Linked DNA regions of Homo sapiens: region 1 is linked to region 2. The links are contacts of gene promoters, found by promoter capture Hi-C in blood cells and fetal thymus (Javierre and others, 2016). All regions are on one chromosome and are shown on one strand. The core of a region is centred on a gene start or on the middle of the fragment in contact, and the rest is flanking DNA. Distances in the headings are between cores, read along the strand shown.

What was found. Contacts are between HindIII fragments. The CHiCAGO score rates a contact against its expected background, and 5 or more counts as called.
Region 1: the fragment with the promoter of TRIM33 here is called in contact with the fragment with the promoter of HS2ST1 in region 2 in 1 of 17 cell types (total CD4 T cells); the score reaches 14.0 in total CD4 T cells.

What each region holds. Positions count from the first base shown.
Region 1 is chr1:114,509,271-114,512,847 of GRCh38, forward strand. TRIM33 (tripartite motif containing 33) reads right to left here and starts at 1,933. Exons shown (of 20, transcript NM_015906.4): 1 at 1,281-1,933. The coding sequence starts at 1,806. LOC124904348 (a long non-coding RNA gene) reads left to right here and starts at 2,068. Exons shown (of 2, transcript XR_007066452.1): 1 at 2,068-2,655. RefSeq lists silencers at 1,470-1,769, 1,800-1,909 and enhancers at 2,100-2,269, 3,130-3,577. The HindIII fragment of the contact is 2,747 bases long and covers 23-2,769 here.
Region 2 is chr1:86,911,825-86,915,884 of GRCh38, forward strand. It overlaps HS2ST1 (heparan sulfate 2-O-sulfotransferase 1), which reads left to right and starts at 2,811. Exons shown (of 7, transcript NM_012262.4): 1 at 2,811-3,336. The coding sequence starts at 3,213. It overlaps SELENOF (selenoprotein F), which reads right to left and starts at 2,302. Exons shown (of 5, transcript NM_004261.5): 1 at 2,204-2,302. The coding sequence starts at 2,287. RefSeq lists enhancers at 1,599-2,213, 2,062-2,111, 2,214-2,828, 2,222-2,381, 2,432-2,551. The HindIII fragment of the contact is 1,083 bases long and covers 2,430-3,512 here.

The DNA of each region.
Region 1 (3,577 bases), core at 683-3,182, about 28 Mb after region 2:
ACCTACAGTCCCGAAATTCAAAAGCTTTGAAATTTTAATTTTTTTCATTGGTTTGCAACAGAACCCACTGTGAATGCTGGGAGGTTATTTATCGTCTATCCCATTAGCGTGACATTCACGTGTTTCAATGTAGAAACATTAACGTGTTTGATAGAGTTAACTCAGACCCTGATAAAAGTCTCACATAACAGACCTTGCCAGAAAAAAGAAAAATCCCAAAATATTCTGAAGTCCTTACACCTGGATCCCAAGAGTTTAAGAGACTGTGAAACCTTTATCTTTTCAGCCCATCAATCCAATCTAATTTCCACCAATCACCCTACACAGTCTTTAGTTCCAGGGATGTAGAAGGGTGTCCTGTGCCCTGAATACCCTCCAACCCAGTGAGGTACTCATTCTTCAAGAAACCTGTTCATGGATTTCCTTTCCTGTGAAATTTCCCTGACCTTTCCTCTATTGTGCCACAACCATTGTACTGAGGACTCACCTCCACTGCTGCAAGTTATATGTTTCTCCTGTTAGACTGTGAATGAAGTCTTCATTGAGTACTTTATTCAATCCTAGCACAGTGCCCCAACACTAGGGGCTCATTAACGGCCAATTAGCTAAAACAAATTCATGCCCAGCTTTCCCTAACTCTCAATTTCCTTCAAAGTTCATTTCTCCTTCATCCCCAAACCTTAGGATTTTCCCTAACCATGCAGTCCACTTTCCGAGTTTCTCTTTCCCCATGTCATCTTACAATTTTCTTCCAGGCGCCTTCTCTGGACCCCTTGCTCTCCAACATATTCTCTCCACCTCCATTTAATCCATAGTCCTCCTCTCTCCTATCTGTGAACACGCCAAGTCCCCTCCCTCCAAAGCAATCCATCTTCACTGCCCTTACCTCTTACCTACTCCCTCAACACCTCGCTGGCCCGGGCCCTTTCAGCCAAAACGCTTCCTCACAACGTGTTTCCCAAATCCCCCTTCTCTCACTGTACGGGTCTGCCAGCTCCAGAACCAGCGCTCGGCCGGGTTCCGCACATCACAAACCCTCCCTCGGAGCCAGTGTCCCCTCCCCCAGCCTCTCGCAGCCGGCACCCCTCCCTTCATGCTCCCCTTATCTCTTGCGGTCCAGCTTCTCTGGAAAGTGTCCCAGGGGCGAGTCTTTCACCTTAGAGACCCCTCGGGATGGCGCCCGTCCGAGCAGCCCCAGGCCCCAGCACCTCCGTCCCCAGCTCCTCTAGGGTTGCGCAAATCCCTTGCGGCCCAGATGCCAGGCAGGGCCTCCGGCTCACCTTGCTGGATGTCGCCGTTGCTGCCCCCCGGGATGGGCACGCTGAGCTGGCGCTCCGGCTCGGGCAGGCAGCGCAGGCAGAAGGAGTGAAGACAGGGCAGCAGCTTGGGCTCCGCCTCACGCCGGCTCTGCAAGCTCTGCTGACACACGGCGCAGGTGTCCAGGAGCGAGGCTGGCGGTCCAGGAGGCGGCCCTGCCGAGGGACCCGGAGCGGGAGCCGAGGCTGGAGCTGGAGCCGGCGTCGATACTGCGCCCCCGGCAACTCCAGTGCCCACTGAGGCCGCAGGAGATGAAGCAGCCTGGGCCGAGCCCGAGGAGGCCGCGGCCACCCCCCCGTCGTCGGGCCCGGCCGCGCCGCCCTCAGCGCCGGCCCTGCCGCCTTCCTCCTCCTCCTCCTCCACCAGCACCGCGGTGAGAGGCGGCTCCGCCTCCTGCGCGGCGGGCCCGGCGGCCCCGGCAGTTACCGGCGCGCTGCCGCTGCCCCCGCCGCCGCTCTCAGCCTCGCCGCCGCCTTTGTTTTCCGCCATGTTTTCCTCTTTGAACCCGCCGGACCGCCCCGCGCCGCCCGCCGCCCGCGTCGCCGCCGCCGCCGCCCCCAGCCCCAGCCGCAGCCGCAGCAAGAGCGGCAGCCGAGAGCTAGCGAGAGAGCGAACCAACGAGAGCGCGCGCGCACGCGGCGCCCCCGCCCTCGCGTCGCGCGTTTGAAGGAGGGCGGTTGCGGCACGCGCACGTACGCACGGACGTCCTCCCGAGGGAGGCGGGAACTCGGTTCGCGGGCGCGGAGCGGTCCCGGACCCTCGAAGCCAGTTCCTTGCGTCAGTGCCGCGGCTCTTTAACCCGAAGGGAGATTTTTTTTTTAAAGCCAGAGGCCGTTGACGCTGGGTAGCCTTTGGCTGGGGTTGGTTATGAACTCCGACACAGCGGTGGTGCATACGGAAGGGTGGTAGCCGGGACGGTTCCGGTCCCTGCGAGCGTGTCCCGGGCGTCTCCGCGGAAGTTTCACCTGCCGCGCCGCTCGATCGCCGGGACCTCCTGGGTCTCTGCTGTGCGTAGACCAGCCGCGTTCCTTTGGGTGGCCGTGGAGCACTAAAGCGGGGCTTATTGTTTGTTTGGTTTTGGTTTTTTTTTTTGTTTTTTTTTTGCTTTTTGTTTTTGAACTGAGGATCTATCAGAAATAGGCTGAAAAGACCGAGTGAGGAAGAAACTCTTTAACAGCTATTTTTGGCATCTTAAGGTGATTCTCAGGAGTTGCTACGTATCAGAATCAACGGAGGAGTTTTTCAAAGCAGAGATGCCAGGGCCAGTCCCCAGACCTGAATCAGGAAGTGAGGGAGAGAGCCGACGGAGGGGGAAAAGTCCCTTCAGCTGATTCTTATGTATGTCAGTTTGGAGAGCCACGGATATAACCAATACTGCGTCCTTCTGAGGTCCCACTTTAAGTGTCCTGGGTTGAGCTGGGTGACAAATGCCCTTACAACAATGGTAGTAGAAGCTTTCAGGCCAAGCGCAGTGGCTCACGCCTGTAATCCCAGCACTTTGGGAGGCCGAGGCGGGCAGATCACTTGAGGTCAGGTCAGGAGTTCGTGGGCAGCCTGGCCAATATGGTGAAACCCCGTCTCTACTAAAAATATAAAAATTAGCCGGGTGTAATGGCGTGCGCCTGTAATCCGAGCTACTCAGGAGGCTGAGGCAGGAGAATGGCTTGAACCCGGCAGGAGGCGGAGGCTGCAGTGAGCCGAGATAGCGCCACTACACTCCAGCCTGGGCGACAGAGCGAAACTCCGTCTCAAAAAAAAAAGAAAAGCTTTCAGAAAGTTGCCTTTTTATTTGAAAAAAAAAAAAAGGTATTTGGAGGATTTTATGTAGTGCAACAACTGTTTTAGTGTTAAGATCATGAAATGCTTTGGTCTCCTGTTAGTGTTCCCAAGAAAGGTGCTGTAAGTCCTTAAACCACGTGAAAACTTTTTTTTTTTTTGAGACCTCCTCGTTCTGTCGCCCTGGCTGGAGTGCAGTGGCGTCATCACATTTCATTGCAGCCTCGACTTCCCAGGCTCAAGCCGTGCTCCTCGCAATTACCTGGGACCGTAGATGCACGCCACCATGACTTAGCTGATCTTTTTTTTCCCTTTGCCTCGAAGAGGCTGGGGTCTCACCATGTTGCCCAGGCTGAAACTCCTGGGCCCGAGCGATTGGCCCGCCTCAGCCGCTGGAAATGCTAGCATTACAGGCATGAGCCACTGCGCCCAGCCTCCTGAAAACTTTTTAAAATTTATTCAAAAATGTTTCCTGACCTCTTTA
Region 2 (4,060 bases), core at 1,561-4,060:
CCAGACTGGAGTGCAATGGTGCAATCTCGGCTCAGTGCAACCTCCGCCTCCTGGGTTCAAGTGATTCTCCTGCCTCAGCCTCCCGAGTAGGCATGCGCCACCACGCCCAGCTAATTTTTATATTTTTACTAGAGACGGGGTTTCACCGTGTTGGCCAGACTAGTCTTGAACTCCTGACCTCAGGTGATTTGCCCACCTCAGCCTCCCAAAGTGCACTGGAATGAGCCACCACAACTGGCCAAAAATGACTAATTTTTGGCTTGGGCAATTGGGAAGCTGACAAAGGCAAAGCCAACCATTTAGATTCTGAATACAGCCAGGGATAATTCAAACGGTGAACCAAGACGCTGTTATTTCTGAGGAGAGAGATGTTTATGGCCTGAGTGATTAACAATAAGTGGATGGATTTGAGATACTTAGGAATTAAAATCAGTAAGTTTCAGTAATTCCCTGGATATGATATATGTAAGGAAAGGAGTCAAACATGACATCCAAATTTCTAGTTTGGATTCTGTGCACAGTCACTGTGGTACGCTGTTTAATTAATTCCTATCATTATTACATATGGAATTAGTTAATTCCATAAATACCTCCTATCCTGGTATGCACACTTTGCAAAGTGACTCTGTCATTCCTCCCATGTAGAGATGAAATCTATTTCTCCATCCCTGAATGTGAACTAGTCTTGTGACTTGCTTTGAGAAATATGTGATGGAAGTAATATATGTGATTTCCAAGGCAAGGCTTTAGAAGGCATTGTAGCTTTTGCTCTTTTGGAGTGCTGCCCTGAGAGTGCCATGAAAAGAAGTTGGTCTAGCCGACTGGAGGATGAGAGGTCACACGGAACAGAACCAAGTCCTCGAGCTGACAGCACCAACTATAAACAGTGGTAATCCTGGAACCTTTCGGTTTAGCTGACCTACTAGGTCAACAAAAAGCATAAATGAGGCCAGGGGAAAACCAACATAGGTGGAGTAGTTCTACTCCACTGACCCAGAATTATGAGAAATCATTGCTGTTTTAAGCTACTAGGTTTTAGGGCGGTTACACAGCTATAGACAACTGACAGTCAAAGACAGAGGGAGATCAAAAAAAGACAACCTGAAATGTTATCTCGAATGACCTAAAGATGTGCAAAAACCCTTAAACAGTAGAAAGTTTAGGGAGAGGTGATCCAGTAATTCCTAGCACCAAATGCCTGAATAACAAGATAATTGGAATGTTAATTACAGAAGTTAAGAATCTACCTTTTGGTTAAAGTAGCCAAAGCAAACAGCCAGGATGCTTTCAAGCTCTTTGAGAAAGGTAAGTACAGGTGTTCATAGAGGACTCCGGTGTAGTCCCTTAACACCCTCAACCTTGGATAAGTAAATTAAACCAGGTCTCCTTATTAGAGACTACCCGAAGAATTAAGCTAGGATAAAAAAACGTAAAAGCTTTCAGCACTGTGCCTAAAATTTTACTATTCACACAGCAGAACATGGATATGAGAAGAAATAAGTTAAAAGTACACTTTTCCCATTCAAAGGTCACCCATCTATTCTGCCAATAGAGAAAAATGAAATAAAAAACGCTGCCTTAAAGAAGACAACGAACATCATTTAAAAAACTAACTTCAAAAATGAATTATACTTTGGTATAGATAACTCCTTTTACTCCAACAACATTGTTTAAAAGCACAAATCGCACTCAAGCGCAGCCAGCCGTATATGAATAGCAGAGGAGAACGGAAGTTAAGAGACTAACAGAAGTAGTGAAAATGAGAGAGCACGCGCGCGAGAGAGGTAAACACAAACTGTTCGCCTGGACCAACGACTTGAAGACTTGCCTCTAAGAGTTGGAAGTCTCGTCATGAGTCTCTTGCATTTCTGTCCATTTAAAAACAACCTCCACTTCTTGCCAAGCTTTATTATTCCCCCCTCCCACCTGGTGTGGTTTACAGATTGTTTTTAGCAAGAGCCGTATAAGAGAAGCTACGTACCCAAGACAATCTGAAATCAAGAGAAAACTGCTGCTAGAAACCCAAGGCGGGGAAGGAGAAGGATCAACCGAGAAATTAAGCCACGTTGCATTCTGGCCGCAGCAGTCATTAAGGAAGCGCAGTCCTCCCCACCCTTTTCAACCAGGACCGAATGTTGCGTCTTTCTCAGCTGCAATCACTCCTACTCTCCCTGTGGCAGCTGCGAAGGTGATCTACACTCACCGCTTGAAGCACAGTCGCCAACAACAACCGTAGCCCAAACGCCGGCACCAGACACCCACTCGGCCCAGCCGCCATCGCTACCATTTTCCGCAGGTTTCTGGCTGCCTAGAAGGACCCCTAAGCTAGGGGCGTCCACTCCAGAGCCTGATCCAAAACAGAACGCTAACGGCCGTTGCCCTTACATCTCTCATTTGGAAGTGACAGGTATTAAATAACGGCATATGAAAGCTTAAAAGTCATCAAATACAATCACTGGGTGCTTTCGATTACCCAAATCAGGCACTTGCCTAAACTCCCCACTTCTTTACTTCTGCGGTCTCCTTTCTTTTATTCACGACACTTCGTCAAGCAGCCAAGAAGCCACGCCTTCGCCAGTTTTAGCCCCGCCTTCTTCTCCAAGTTTACCCAATTGAATGTCGTCTTGATTGAGCTCTGTGGCAGAGGAAACCAACCGTAAACCGAACCAAGAGCGAAGCGCAGGGGCTCTTCCGTCCAATAAGCGGACCCGAACGGGGGGAGGGGCGGGGCTTCTGGTTGCCGAGCAGCGTACGCGGATGCGTGCGCGTGGTGGCGGAGGGGGATGGGCGGGGGCGGGGATGAGGGCGGCGCAGCCGCAGCGCCGGTGGAGGGGCGCGCGGCCGCGAGCAAAGGAGGGAGGGAAGGAAGGAAGAGAGGGAGGCGGGCAAGCAGGCGGGCGCGGGGGTCGGGGACTGAGGCAGTAGAGGGAGGCGAGAGCCCGGCAGCCGCTTCGCGCTGTTTGCTGCGCGGGCTTTTGGAGGGGGCGGCCGTTTAGTCGGCTGAGGAGAAGCGGACACCAGCGGCGTTGGTGATAGCGCCTGGGGGAGGGGGACTGGAGAGGCGAGAAGGGGGGTCGCTGCGGTGGTTCTCTCGCTGTCGCTCTCTCTTTGCCTCGCTCCCGGCTCGGCGGGCTCCTCCCGGCGTCTCTCTCGCCTCCGGGGTCCCGCTCCCCGCCCCCCGCGGTATGTCTTGATCCCGAGCAGCGGGTTTCATGGGGCTCCTCAGGATTATGATGCCGCCCAAGTTGCAGCTGCTGGCGGTGGTGGCCTTCGCGGTGGCGATGCTCTTCTTGGAAAACCAGATCCAGAAACTGGAGGAGTCCCGCTCGAAGCTAGGTGAGGAACTGAACTGCCCCGGGCTGAGTGCTGTGGAAGGGGCCGAGGAGGCGCTGCCGCCGGAGCAAGTGGGCGTTCATCTAACCTGGGGTCTGGCTCGGGGGCTGAAAGCGGTTTCAAAGAGAACCGGGAACAAGGGGCAGCGAGAGCACGAGCTCCAAGAATGGGTTGAATTAAGCTTGAGCGGCGTGCTGGGCTCGCGAGGTCACGGGGCAGAGGTTGCAAGGTTGGGCTTCCCTAGCCAAAGGGTAGCCCCGAAGTAGGCATTCCGCGGAGAGAGAGCGAGAGAGAAGACCGAACTCAGTGGGGAGCGTGTGTTGCTGGTCTCCGGAGACAGAAGCGCTTAGCATCGCGTGTTCTCTTGGAAGTCGTACAGGAAGCCCTGGCAATGTCAGATGAGGGGTATTCTAATTTGAGCTATGGGCATCTGGATACGAATTCTTTTGGGGGCTCATGAAGGGATAGGTGCGCAGAAATGGGAGGAGATGCTGGGATGACGGAGAGCAACATGTGAACACTGTAGCGAGTTGCACTCTTGTGCTCCGGGCAGCAAAGGACCTTGTAATTGCCAGCTGAGGGAGGCTGGCCGGGTAGTGCGGGAACGCGAGTGCAAAGCTTCATCGGAGTACGGAAATGAGGGTCCGGAGATTTAAATTCTTCTTTAGTGGCGCTAAACTGATGAATTGGGGCTTGAGAATAGGGATGCCTATGTATGTTGCTTCAC